Linked DNA regions of Homo sapiens: regions 2, 3 and 4 are each linked to region 1. Evidence: promoter capture Hi-C in 16 types of primary human blood cells and fetal thymus (Javierre and others, 2016). All regions are on one chromosome and are shown on one strand. The core of a region is centred on a gene start or on the middle of the fragment in contact, and the rest is flanking DNA. Distances in the headings are between cores, read along the strand shown. Region 1 holds the start of ZNF202 (zinc finger protein 202). Region 2 holds the start of EI24 (EI24 autophagy associated transmembrane protein). Region 3 overlaps CCDC15 (coiled-coil domain containing 15). Region 4 has its middle 5.2 kb from the start of ROBO3.

Region 1 (3,387 bases), core at 435-2,934:
GGGTGTTTCTGGCCAATATGGTGAAACCCCCTCTCTACTAAAAATACACACACACAAAAAAAAAATAGCTGGGCATGGTGGCACATGCCTGTAATCCCAGCTATTCGGGAGGCTGAGGCAGGAGAATTGCTTGAACCCAGGAGGCAGACATTGCAGTAAGCCGAGATCGCTGGGCGACAGAGCAAGACTCTGTCCAAAAAAAAAAAAAAAAAAAAAAAAGAGAGAGAGATTAGCATTTGAATCAGTAGACTGAGTAAAGAAAATCACTCTCACCACTATGCGTAGGCACCATCCAATCCATTGAGGGCCCAAATAGTATAAAAAGGCAGAGGAAAAGTAAATTCACCTCTCTCTTCTTGAGCTGGGACATCATCTCCTCCTGCTCTCTGGCCTTCAGACACCAGCACCTCAATCCCTTTCCAGTTCTCAGGCCTTCAGCTTTAGACTGAATTATACCACCAACCTCCTTATTTCTCCAGCTTGCAGTAAGCAGATGGTGGGACTTCTCAACGTCCATAATTATGTAAGCCAACTCCTTATAATAAATCTCCTTTTATATGTTTATACATACCCCGTGTGAAAGGAAAGTGATTTGGGGCCCCCAAAATCACTAAAGGGAAAATTCATGCTGGGAACTGCTTAGGGCAAACCTGCCTCCCCTTCTATTCAAAGTCACCTCTCTGCTCACTGAGATAAATGCATATCTGATTGCCTCCTTCCGGAGAGGCTAATCAGCAACTCAATGCAACCATTTGTGTCTTATCTACCTATGACCTGGAAGCCCCCTCCCCGCTTTGAGTTGTCCTGCCTTCTGGGTTCACACCTATTAGTTCTGTTTCGCTAATACACTGCCACTCCACCAAAAGTAACTAATCCTTTGGTTCAAACCCAGTAAACAGATCCCAGCAATGTGTCCCATGAAAAGGAAGTGGCACATGGCACGTGGAGAGTGGTGACTTACAGGGTAAAAGGGACAGAGAGCAAAGGAAAATGTCAAGTATGGGCAGAAAGGTCACCGAACGGACAAAAATGAACAAATGAGATCAGGGAAGACAGCCTGAAAGTAAAGAAATACGAAGCAACACTCAAAGGAAAAGAAAGAACAGTGATACCATAACTATTTTCTTTCTGAGCTTCTGATGTTCCATTCAGTTCATGTGCAATGTATCATTTAGTCCTCAGAGTAACGGTATTATTATGCCCGTTTTATATGATGCACAATAGGGTTCAAAGATGGAGAGATTCGGCCGAGGCCCTGCTGCTGATGGTGACTGCAAGAGCCAGTATTCAAACCTAACGCTGCCCTTTTCTACCATGTTGCAGCGGACAATGCAAAGAAAAAAAAATCAAGAAAAACACGTAGAGGTATCCAAATGAAAACAAACACACAAAAGATCAAAAACAGAAAAGAAAAAAGAAAAGAAAAAGAAAACCCTTGCAGAAGGTATGCCTGTAAATGAAAGGCCCAAGATGTTAATTTATTCGCTGCAGAGTGGAGTTAGGGGTCGCGGACGGCAGCTGTGGGGTCCGAGGCTTCTTCGCACTGGGTCCTTGGGGAGCACTGAGCCGCAACCCGCGGAGGGCGCATAGAGAGGATCAAACCTCCCACAGCCTAGAAAGGCTCCTACTCGGCGAGAAGGCGGGGCGAGCGATCGCTTCCGGTTCCGGGCGCAAAGGCCCCACGTGTTCCGACCCGCTAGGCCCCGCGCGGCTCGGATCCGGCGGCGCTGTTTCGGTCGGGAGTGGGTGGGAGAGAAGCCGGGGCAGGGGAGGAGCCGCCGGAGCTGTCGGAGCCGTGAGTCCTGAGTGGGCTGGGCTGGGCCGGGCCGGGCTGGACCGGGCCGGACCAGATCGGGCAGAGCCGGGCAGGGCGGGGAGGAGGGGGAGGGACCGGAGACCCCGCCCCCCAGAGTCTGGGGAAATCGCCGTGTCCTGGGGAAGGGGTGGCGGCGGTGTACTGAGGGTGCCGAGACGTTGTGGTCTCTGTGTTTCCTGGTGGCCGGAGCCAGTATCTCCGGGGACACGGATGGCGCTCCCGGCTTCCTTTCCTTTCCAGCCACCGCCCTCCGCCCCCTCCTGGGGCCTGCAGAAATGTAGTTAGTCCGTACCTCGTACCTCCTAACGCTTCCGCGCCAACTGTCCCCCCGGAACCGAGGGAGGAGTGGTCTAGGCCCCTTTATTTTCCGCAGCTTTTTCTTACCCCTCCTCTCAGATTGCTTAAGATCATCTCCGCGGGCTCCTTGCCCCGGCTAGCCCCATCTCCTTACACCACCAAGCCCCCCTCAGCCCCCCAGCACACACCCAGATACACTCACCCGTGATCTTGTCACCTGTGATGATAGTAGTCCTTGGCGTCCATTTGGCCAGAGGCTTTTCAGCTGCCACTGTGACAGACCCTGAGGTCCCCTCAAGCCAGTAGCTGCTGTCTCCACTTGCAACTTTCCTCTCCTCCCACTCCTAACAGCCAGTTTTGGCACCTCTTCTCAGCACCTGCGTTACTTTTAGCAGGAGTATACCTACTTCTTGAGTGTCTTGATTAAAAATTTGTTTTTGTGCCATGGATAGGCTGTGTTCCTTCAGAAAGGTGTCAGTCTAATTTTTGTTTTTCTGAACAATGAATGTTCTCATCTTCTAGGCGCTTTGATAACCCTGTCTGCCTTGGAATCTGTACTGACCTCCCCAGAGGGAGACTCTTAGACCCAGCCTTTCTTGAACAACCTTGGTCCTGGGGAGCAGCGCTAGATCCCAGGCTCTCAATTAGAGGCTGGGCTTAGAACTGTTGCTTTTTCTCTATCCACGCTCTGCAGGTGACACCCAGGGCAGCTACACTCAGAAGCCACAAGGAATGCTAGTGGAGCCCCTCATCCCTCCCAGCTTCTCTTCCAAGCTGCCCCGTGGGGCTTGATCCAGGAAGCTACTTCAGAAAGGTTGTGGGATAGCCTTGGGAGGAGGTTTGTTGGTGGGAAGCGTGTGAACGCGGAGCAGTCTGGGATAACTTTCTGCTGTTACTATCTAGCATAAGAGGGTGGGCAGGGTTGGAGAGAGGACAGGAATTTTTCCTCCTAGGACCAAACGCCTGGGATTCATAATCTTTCACCCTTTCTCCTCCAGCTATACCCTTTTTGTACTCTGTGTATATACTATATTGCAGTAGACAATCATTCCAAGGGTACAACAAGGTTTACCACAATGTGAGGGACTCAGCCATTGCAAATTGTACAGATGAGGTAAGTTACAGGTTTACATTTTTTTTTCCCAGTAAATTTGGCACAGATTTAAAATGTGAAACAGTTCTATACCCCTTGTTTTTGCTGTTCTCTCACCAGCAAACCCTTTAGTTTGGCCAGCAATGGCTTTCTGCATGAACTTCAGATTTACTTCATTTGC
Region 2 (3,387 bases), core at 432-2,931, 1.8 Mb before region 1:
AACCACTTCACCAAACTGCTCCTCATTGACCCAACTGGACTAATGCCATTCAGAACTGGAAGAGCAGGGGATATGGCAGTAGGAAGGCAATTTGCCCAACATTGTATATACCCTCTGCTCCTTAGGTCAAATCCTACACAGATAGGCTCACTTCGGATAGAAGTCTCTAGGGTAAGAAACTTCTGTTAATACTCCCACTGTTTCCTCCTGAAAACAAACACCTCAGAGTTCCAGTCGCGTAGGTACAGCCATACAGACATGTTCTCAGGGTTGAGGTGAGGGCAGCTGAGCTAGATAACTAGCAAAGGCTCAGTGATATGCACGACACTAGTTTGTAAAGACTCACAGATCCACTCCCGTAACCTGCCACTGGCTCATCTATAAATTAAGGGTACTAAACTTCTTCATAGGTTTCTTGCATCTAATAGGGCACAACAGCATGAAAAAAACTTAAAATTCTATATAAACACAACCCCACCAAAGTGAGCCAGCTTGGAGGTTTAAGGAAGCCCATTACTTGGCCTGGATTTCTCACAGGGAACTGACAGGGAACCTGAAACATTCTGTCTCAGTCCACAACAGCTGTGTCATTTGATCCCTGGCCAGCTAACACCTGGTTTCTGCATGTACCAAGTGGCAGGACACCTCCTAAGAGTGACCTATGAAGGATAAATCACTTCACTTTTATACTTAGATCCTAACATCCTTCCTACAGGAATATTTGGTGAATTACCCAGTCTGACAAATAGCTGAGGCATGGGGAAAAATAACCTGCCACAATTTGAGAACACACACACAGACTGAATGACACAGGGGGAATCCTACAGCTGAGCTAGACAGATGAAGATGCATCTGGCTCATTTAACAGGTGAGAGAACCCAGTCTCAGAAGTTAAATGACTTGCCCAGACTGACAGCAAATGAATGGCAGCTACAGTGAACCTCAGAACCCGGTGTTCTAACGTTACCTCGGTCGAGACTTGTTTTTACTTAAGCTTTGCAATGAAGATTTTTGTTTTAACACGAGCATCCCATGGACAAATAACCTCTCAAACCTGGAAATACAAATGCCATTAAATTCCCAACAGTCATTAGAAGCTAATAAGCATCTGCTGAGACACACTTTTATTTCTAAGTCACTAAACCCAAGTCTCGGCAAACAGGAAGCTGTCGTAGCCCACTCCAGGTACAGGGAAGGTAAACATCCTCACTTCCCACGGGGCTCCACGGGCTGCCTCTGAGTCCACGGGTCCATTCAGGCCCATCTCCCCACAGCTCCTAGGCAATTCGGCAGAAAACTGGTCTCCCTAGGCACAACTGTGCACGAGGTACGGATCACGCGAGGTGCGGATCACGCACGCTCCGGGTCACACAGGGAGCTAAAGATAGCTGCGCCGCACCTGGGGCAGCCTCGCCCGGGGATGTGCCCGGCCCCGTCCCGCTCCCTCCGGCCCCTTCCCATAAGGGGTCCTCGCCGGTAGCCCCACCAACCCACGCTCGGGCCCTGCCTGCCCTCCCGGTCCCTGCCACTCAGAATGGGCGGCGCGGCGGCCCCGAGGCCTAGCTCGGCTGAGCCCGCACCTACCCACAGCTCCGCCGCCGCGGCTCCGGCCCTGCCCCTAGCCCACCGCAGGCCAGCTCCGCCGGGGCGCTTCCAGGGCCGGGGCCGCTGCGCCCGCACTGGGCATGCCCGGGCCGCACGGGGCCGCTGGGAAGTCGGGCGAGCGCGAAGAACCAGCCGGCACCACGAGGCGGGGCCCAGAGCCGAAGGGGTGGGCCGCGCGGAGCGACGGAGACTGGGAAATGTAGTCAGTCCGGGGTCCCGCCTCGCGCTGCGTGCGGGATCGTCCGGCTCCCAACTCCGCCTGGCGGCGGAGAGGACCCCTCACCCCTCCGCGTCGCCTCCTCCCCGTCGCCTCCTCGCCGATCCCGTTCTCACAGATCTCTCCTCCTGTTCTTTGCCCTCCCCCATTGACTCCACAACGCTGCTTGCGTTTCTAAAATCCTGTGAAATTAGTAACAGGATGCCTTTAATCCCAGCATTTTGGGAGGCCAAGGCAGGCAGATCACGAGGTCAGGAGTTCAAGACCAGCCTGGCCAACATAGCGAAACCCCATCTCTACTAAAATAACAAAAATTAGCCAGGTGTGGTGGTACCTGCCTGTGGTCCCAGCTACTCAGGAGGCTGAGGCAGGAGAATTACTTGAACTCAGGGGATGAAGGTTGCAGTGAGCCGAGATCACACCACTGCACTCCTGCCTGGGCGACTGAGCAAGACTCAGTCTCAAAATAATAATAATAATAATAAATTTAAAAAATGAAATAAAATAAGTGGCTGGGCACGGTGGCTCATGCGTGTAACCTCAGCACTTTGGGAAGCTGAGGCGGGCAGATCACTTGAGGCCACCCTGGCCAAGATGGTGAAATCCCGTCTCTACTAAAAATACAAAAAATTAGCTGGGCATGGTGGCACACACCTGTGGTCCCAGCTACTTGGTCGGCTAAGGAATGAGAATCACTTCAATTCAGGAGGCAGAGGTTGCGGTGAGCCGAGATCGCACTACTGCACTTCAGCCTGGGTGACACAGCTAGACTGTCTCGAAAAATAAAATAAAATAAAACAAAACAAAACAATATAAAATAGAATAGAATAAGGAATCCATCTACTAAAGCTTAGAAATCTTGTTACAAAGAGACCTAAGTGGTTTAATGACAAACTGATTATTGTGCTATTAATTATAATAATAGCTCTTCCTCCAAGCTCTATTCTTTCTCAAGAGTGTCAATTTAGAAAAGATTTTAGAAAGAATTTAGTAGGTATGAGTTTATTCTGGCTTACTTCATGGGAGGAAATCTTTTTTTTTTTTTTTTTTTGAGACTGAGTCTGTCTTTGTCTCCCAGGCTGGAGTGCAGTGGTGCGATCTCGGCTCACTGCAAGCTCCGCCCCCTGGGTTCACGCCATTCTCCTGCCTCAGCCTCCTGAGTAGCTGGGACTACAGGCACCTGCCACCAAGCATGGCTAATTTTTTTGTATTTTTAGTAGAGACGGGGTTTCACCGTGTTAGCCAGGATGGTCTCGATCTCCTGACCTCGTGGTCCGCCCACCTACAGCCTCCCAAAGTGCTGGGATTACAGGCGTGAGCCACTGCGCCTGGCCGGGAGGAAATCTTTTAAATCTCAACATGTATAACCACATTTAAAATAAAAACCAATAATAATTAATACCTTGCATTTTTAAAGAGCTCTCACATGCTTATGTATGATTAGATGCTATTTGTGGACAAGTAGAGGATATTATTTTCCAAATTTCACAAATGAGGAAGTTTGTGGCAGAGCACTTTGAGAAGACATGACCTCCAGTTAAGCTGTGAACCTTAGTTTCTTTTTT
Region 3 (3,387 bases), core at 310-2,809, 1.2 Mb before region 1:
TGCTGATGTCTTTAAAGATGAAAGACAGAAAATGAACTTAAATGTTAGCAGTTTTGTCCATTAGGGCTGTTTTAAACACAAAACAGTCAGGATAAGGATACAATCCTGAAAAAAATAATTCCATTCTGTACAAAAAAAAATGGAATGTATGAGTATCAAATCTTAAATTTTTTATTGAATTAGAACTAACGATGTCTTCATTAAATCTTAATGAACCAAATAAAACCTAACACGTTACACATTTTCTAAAATGGAGTAAATAGTCAAGACACACCAGGTTACTTACCACTCACCAAATATGTCCTATTGTTAAAATGTCTTCATATTTGGCATTATGCTCCATTTTTAACCTGGCATGCCCTTCCTTTCATCTCCACCTAGTAAAGGCCTATTCAGTTTTCACAACCATTTAATACCCACTCCCCAGTACCTTCCACAACACTCTCTCTCTAAGCCCTCTTATGCTATAACACCTCTCATTTCACCAATGTTAACTGAGTATAGTACTTCTTGACTCCCCTACTAGATTATGAACTCTTTGAGGACAGGATATGTATTCAATTCTCCTTTATTTCCCCTACGGCATCTAGTACAGAGCCTTCACTATAAGGGTAGTCAATATATATTTATATAATTGCTCAATTCCAAAACATATTCTAAACCAGGGGTGTCCAATATTTTGGCTTCCCTGGGCCATGTTGGAAGAACTGTCACATAAAATACATTAACACTAGTAGCTGATGAGAAAAAAAAAAATCACAAAAAAACTCATAGTGTTAATTAAGAAAATTTATTAATTTACATTGGGTCGCATTCAAAGCCATCCTGGGCCACATGTGGCCCATGGCCGCATGTTGGACAAGCTTGTTCTGAACAATCTGGAACACTTTATCCCATTTGAGTTCTTGATCTGCATTTATCTCCTCTAAGTGCTTTGAATAATAATCATAGTCATCATCATAACAGCACTTATCATTATTATGGATCTATCAGGTGACAAGTATTTTAACTACTTTGTAGCACTCTATCCTCAAAACCACCTTTGGCAGTAGGTATTCTTATCCCTTATGTTACAGATGAGGAAGCTGGAGTTCAGAAAGATTAAGTAATTTTAATATAGCTAACTAGTAGCAGAATTAGAAGTTTCTGACTCCAACAATTATGTTCCTCTCTACACTGCTTTTCTCTTGACTATGTCTCTCTTTCACTAGGAATTTTCAAATTAAATAAAATCATCATCATATCTCGTACCTATTCCTTCTAACTCAGTGATTCCAACTTCTAATTCTGAAGGGTACCTCAGATCATTTTACAGGCTGTCATTAAATTCTCAAAATCAAATGCATTCAAATTTCAATTTAAGTTAAAATTTCCAAGATGTCTATCCCATAAACTACTCTAGTGGAGTGTACAAGTGTCAAAGAACAATTAGGTAAAATAATTCCAACGGAGAGATATATACGTAATGAAGCCTGAACAACTGACCCAGCTTAACTCAAGCCCCAGACAAGTTTAAGCCATTCGGCCTCTTTCTTTTACCTCCATTTTCTCTGCTCCTCTTTTACTCCACAAGATTACAAGCCAGGTCATAAAGAAACTTCCACCTCTGTTCTTAGAGTGCTCATTCTGAAGGAAGTCAGCACCATATAAAAATTCAGACTACCCTGAGATTACCATGCTGTGAGGAAGCCCAAGTTAGTCAAACAGAGAAGCCATGTGAAAAGAGAAACATATCTAACCAGCACCCAGACATTCTAGTCATCCTAGGCCAAGCGTCAGATATGTGAATAAGAAAGCCATCTTGGACATTACAGCCCAGCAGGTGCCACATTACTGGGAGAACTTGACTATTGTCTAGCTCCAGCCAATAGCCGGAAAATAGTCAAGGTGTCTCAGACATGTCCAGTTATTTGAGCCCCAGCTGAGGTCCCAGACACTATGGGGCAGAAACAAGCCATTACCACTGTACCCTGCTCAAATTCCTGTTACATAGTATTATTTGCTTTATACCACTAAGTTCTGGGGTGGTTGGTTACACAGCAAAAGGTAACCAGAACAAATTATAAAATAATGCAATCCCATATATGATGATAGAACAGCAGTGTCTTTTGATGCTAATTTATTAATAATTATTGGGGGGAGGTAGTCTAAAGCTATGACATTTTTAGGAATCCTGATGGCCCCCTGAAATTTTGGGGAGAAAAATGAGTAGAAGTTCCCCTTTAGAACAGACATGATCTAAGGGCCAAGCTTTAGAAGTAACTATTCAGCATTTATTTTGAGCTGACAGAGCTATATCCGTTAATAAGGGTGGATACCCAGACTAGATATGCTAAAGCTATAAGGAGTTCTATTAGATGCTTGATCAAACTCCCTTTGGCTGGAACTGATCAGAAATTTTTAAATCAGGAAAAGGAGATATGTTTATCCATGTTCCAAGACTTTAATATTTTGAGTTAATGTGTGTGAATACGATAGTCAATACTTCTTAACATAGAAAAAGTTTGATGGTGTCAAATTTTAGGCATGTTGACACTACTGATATTATACAGATGTAATTTGAGCAATTACAAAGAGGTGTCAACAACTTAAATACCAAAATATCTTTATACCAAATCTTACCAAGTCTTGTGGGGTGTTTCCTGCATTCATCCCTTCTCATTCCACTCCTTTTTTTTTTCCAGAGATGGGGTCTCACTCTATTGCCCAGGCTAGAGTGCAGTAGTATGATCATAGTTCACTGCAGCCTACAATTCGTGGGCTCAAGCACTTCAATCATCCTTTTTCAAGGCTGTTCTTCTCTATTTCTTACCACTAACAAAGTTTCGATGCTATACTCCATGCTTAAATTATTATAATTATATTCTAATTTATCCCCAGGATCCAATCACTCCCTATCCTTCAAAACCTTTGAAGCAATTCATCTAAAGAAAACACTGGTTGATCATGACATTCACCTGTAAATATTAAACAAAGTCAATCCCTTCTCCAAAATTTCCTAAGGTACTCTACCATCCCTATTTTCCATAATCCTGTCAGCAACCATTCTCCTACTAAGCTTTCCACTCCAATCGATCTAATCTACCCTTAGAATCCTGAACCTTGCTTACTTCTTACTCTCCTCATTCTCCTTAATAGGAGAATCATTCCCTTCCCTTCTCCGATCAAATTCTTCATTACACTTTCCTGGGTCACATCAACCCAACGTCATAGCTTCTTGATTGAGCATTATATTCTTAGAACTTAGATAGAGATACCACCTAGACTCTTAAAATCCTTTTTGGAAATAGGCAGGGTAGGAATAAATCAATGAATATACATACATATGTGCAAACATAAATAAAATGAATATAGTATATTGCATTACTTTAACATTTAAACACATCT
Region 4 (3,387 bases), core at 320-2,819, 1.1 Mb before region 1:
CTAGGGGAGAGAACAGCTACCCCAGGCTAACTTTCTTGGCCTAGTGCCAGCATATCGGCCAGAGAATGTGGCTGGGAATTTTCAGTGGCCAAGCTGGGGCCATATGGGGAGGCTTCTTGGTGGTCTAAAGCCTGCATGCCGGCTGGTAGTGGATGAAGCTGCTGGCATGTAATTGCCCAGGAGTGCAGTCTGAAGACAACCCCCCATTACTACCACTGCCTCCCCCCAATGTACACACACACTGTCCGGTCCATTTGCATCCCCCCAGAGCCTGTAGCCTGCCATCACTCTCTGCCTGGACCCCTTCCCAGGACATTAATACATATTGAGTGTGAGATTGTGTGTGTGTGTGTGTGTGTGTGTGTGTGTGTGTGTTTGCTGGGAGGGGGACAAAGAAATAACATCTGCCCCTTACCCCCACTAGGGTATGCCTGTGAATGGCCCAGCAGGGCTGCTGGCTTCAGAGTGATGATGCCAGGGGGCAGCGACCCAGCCAGCAGGGGCCAGAGAACCAAACAGGAGGGGGAATCAGAGAGCAAAGAGCAGGCACCCAGCTGGAAAGCAGACAGCAGGAGCCTGCCCCCGGCAGGAGCCAGAGTGTGTTGGCTCAACCCCTATAGCTGCTGAGATAATAAGCCAAGGCCCCCTGCATGAAAGTCCCCCTTTCCCCACAGGGTTCCAGTGGAGGAGACTGTGGGGAGACACTTTGCAACACACTCTACCAAGACTGGAAATCTGGAGACAACTGGGCAGAAATGTTCACATCCCAATACAGATAAAACAAAGTCCAGGGAGAAAAAGAGCTTTCTTGGTTCTTTTTATAAAACTAGATACAGAGCAAGCTTCCATAAATATACACTTGGTGACTATACCTGATTAAATAGTTAGTCCTCACAACTACCCCTGCAGAGCCCACTAGCCTTCTCTCTCTCTCCTTTTGCATTACAGCTGCTGTAAGAAAGTACCAAAAACTAGGTGGCCTAAAACAACAGAAATGTATCCTCTCACAGGTTAGAAGCCTGAAATCAAGGTGTCAGCTGGGCCATGCTCTCCCTGAAGGCTCCAGGGAGGGATCTGTTCTTGCCTCCTCCAGCATCTGCTGATTACCAGCAGTGCTTGGCCTTCCTGGTCTTGAGGATTCATCACTCCATCTCTGCCTCTGTCTTCTTATGGCCTTCCCTGGGTGTGTGTCTCGGTGTCTCTTACCTCTTCTTATAAGGCCACCAGTCATTGGATTAGAGTCCAATTTAATCCAGCATGACTTCACCCTAACTAATTACATCTGCAAAAACCCTCATTTTCAAATGAAGTCACATTCTGAAGTTTTGGGTGAGTAGGACTTTTTTAGGGGGGACAACACATTTAACTTAGTATACCTTATTTTCCTGTATTTCCTTCCTCTTCTGCTCTCTCCATATTCCTGATACTCCCCCAGGGCCCTATTATTTGAGTTTTTAAAATATTCTTGTAATGATAATCATAATGCATGTTCAGGCAAACATATTCAAGCAGTATAAGAAAGTGTAAGATGAAAAGTCTAAGTCCTCACTCCATCAAGTCCTTCTTTATCCTACAGATCCAGTTGCCTGGGTAGCTACCCGTGGTTTCTTGTGTGTCCTTTCTGATTCTTTTTAAAAAGCATATATAAGCATATGTATCTCTATTCCTTTTATTTTATTTATTAATATATTTTTTGAGACAAGGTCTCACTCCGTCACCCAGGCTGGAGTGCAGTGGCACAATCTCCACTAACTGCAACCTCCACTTCCCAGGTGCAAGCGATCCTCCCACCTCAGCCTCCCGAATAGCTGGCACCATAGGCGTGCACCACCACACCCGGCTAATTTTTTTAAAATTTTTTTGGTAGACACGGGGTTTTGCCATGTTGCCCAGGCTGGTCTTGAGCTCCTCAGCTCAGACAATCCACCTGCCTTGGCCTCCCAAAGTGCTGAAATTATAGGCACGAGCCACTGTGCCCATCCTCTCTATTCTTTTAAAGTACAAATTAGCCAGGCATAGTGGCACAGGCTTGTAGTTCCAGCTACTTGAGAGGCTGAGGCAGGAGAATCACTTAAGCCCAGGAGTTCAGGACCAGCCTGGGCAACACAGTGAGACCTTTGTCTCAGATTATTTGTACTGTTCTGCAACTTGCCTTTTTTAACCCATCGATATTTTTAGGGCATCTCTTTCTATCAGTTCATGTATCTCCATCTTTTTTACTTTACTGGCTGGCTAATATTCCATTGCATAGGTTTATTGTACATTTGTAATCAGTCCCCTATTTATGGAAGCTTAGGTTGTTTCTGGCTTTTTGTTTTACAAACAATGCTACTAATAAACATACTACACCTATATCTTTACACACATCTCTAGCTGTAGAATAAATTGTAAAAAGTGAAATTATAGAGGCAAATAATAACTAACAACAGCTAATGTTTATTGAGTGGTTTTATTAATTTCTTCATTCAGCAGATGTTCACCAGGTACCCACTGTGGGCCAGACATAGTTCTGGATGTGCAAGCTACCAGGAATGAGAAAAATCTGAGCACTTTGCAGGCATAATCTCATGTAATGCTCATAGGAACGCTGCGAGGTGGGTACTATTATTTCCAGTTTTCAGATAAGAAAATTATGCCTAAGAAAGCACAGCAAGTAAAGTAACTTTACTTAAGTAACTGCTTAAAGTTACATAGCAAGAAGTATGTGCATTTATATATATATATATACATTTTTTTTTGAGGTGGAGTCTCACTCTGTTGCCCAGGCTGCAGTGGCTCAATCTCGACTGACTGCAACCTCTGCCTCCCAGATTCAGGCGATTCTTCTGCTTCAGCCTTTTGAGCAGCTGGGATTACAGGAGTATGCCCTGATGCCCGGCTAATTTTTGTATTTTTAGTAGAGATGGTATTTCACCATGTTGGCCAGGCTGGTCTCAAACTCCTGACCTCAAGTGATCCGCCTCCCTTGGCCTCCCAAAGTGCTGGGATTACAGGCATGAGCCACCGAGCCCGGCCGCATTTAAATTTTCATATATATCATCAAATTGCCCTTCAAATGGTGCCACAATTGACAGTCCCACAGCAGTGTATGAGAGTCTCTGTCTGCTCACCATGACCAAATATTATGTTTTTATTTTTTACAATTAAATAAATGAAATATGTATTTAATTACTGTAACATATATAGTTAATTCTGAGTGAACTTGAGAACATTTTCATCTGTTTAATGGCCACTTACACATTTTTTCCACGATTTGCTCTCTTGTGTCACTGGGGAAAATTTATTATTTGTCTCATGTGTATATGTTGAAAATTCCCCTCAGTTTGTCATATAATTTTTGACTGAAAAATATTTTACCAGATTTTAGAAAACAAAGTCAAATGTATT

The links. The method cuts DNA at HindIII sites, captures the fragments that hold promoters and counts their contacts. A CHiCAGO score of 5 or more calls a contact.
Region 2: a contact is called between the fragment with the promoter of EI24 here and the fragment with the promoter of ZNF202 in region 1, in 1 of 17 cell types (activated CD4 T cells). The highest score is 5.3, in activated CD4 T cells.
Region 3: a fragment that was not itself captured here is called in contact with the fragment with the promoter of ZNF202 in region 1 in 1 of 17 cell types (naive B cells); the score reaches 6.0 in naive B cells.
Region 4: a contact is called between a fragment that was not itself captured here and the fragment with the promoter of ZNF202 in region 1, in 1 of 17 cell types (total B cells). The highest score is 5.1, in total B cells.

The regions. Positions count from the first base shown.
Region 1 is chr11:123,739,957-123,743,343 of GRCh38, reverse strand. It overlaps ZNF202 (zinc finger protein 202), which reads left to right and starts at 1,684. Exons shown (of 9, transcript NM_003455.4): 1 at 1,684-1,795; 2 at 2,808-2,927; 3 at 3,152-3,227. RefSeq lists enhancers at 502-1,099, 2,089-2,298 and silencers at 1,689-1,738, 1,779-1,908. The HindIII fragment of the contact is 6,844 bases long and covers 1-3,387 here.
Region 2 is chr11:125,567,771-125,571,157 of GRCh38, reverse strand. It overlaps EI24 (EI24 autophagy associated transmembrane protein), which reads right to left and starts at 1,681. Exons shown (of 11, transcript NM_004879.5): 1 at 1,585-1,681. It overlaps STT3A-AS1 (STT3A antisense RNA 1), which reads left to right. Exons shown (of 4, transcript NR_132372.1): 3 at 716-868; 4 at 3,040-3,050. RefSeq lists enhancers at 964-1,013, 1,516-2,017 and a silencer at 1,454-2,013. The HindIII fragment of the contact is 1,677 bases long and covers 997-2,673 here.
Region 3 is chr11:124,955,737-124,959,123 of GRCh38, reverse strand. It overlaps CCDC15 (coiled-coil domain containing 15), which reads right to left. Exons shown (of 16, transcript NM_025004.3): 3 at 1-9. Among named protein-coding and RNA genes, the nearest start is that of CCDC15, 3.2 kb to the right of the region's middle. The HindIII fragment of the contact is 1,387 bases long and covers 866-2,252 here.
Region 4 is chr11:124,858,552-124,861,938 of GRCh38, reverse strand. No RefSeq gene overlaps it. Among named protein-coding and RNA genes, the nearest start is that of ROBO3, 5.2 kb to the left of the region's middle. The HindIII fragment of the contact is 1,449 bases long and covers 845-2,293 here.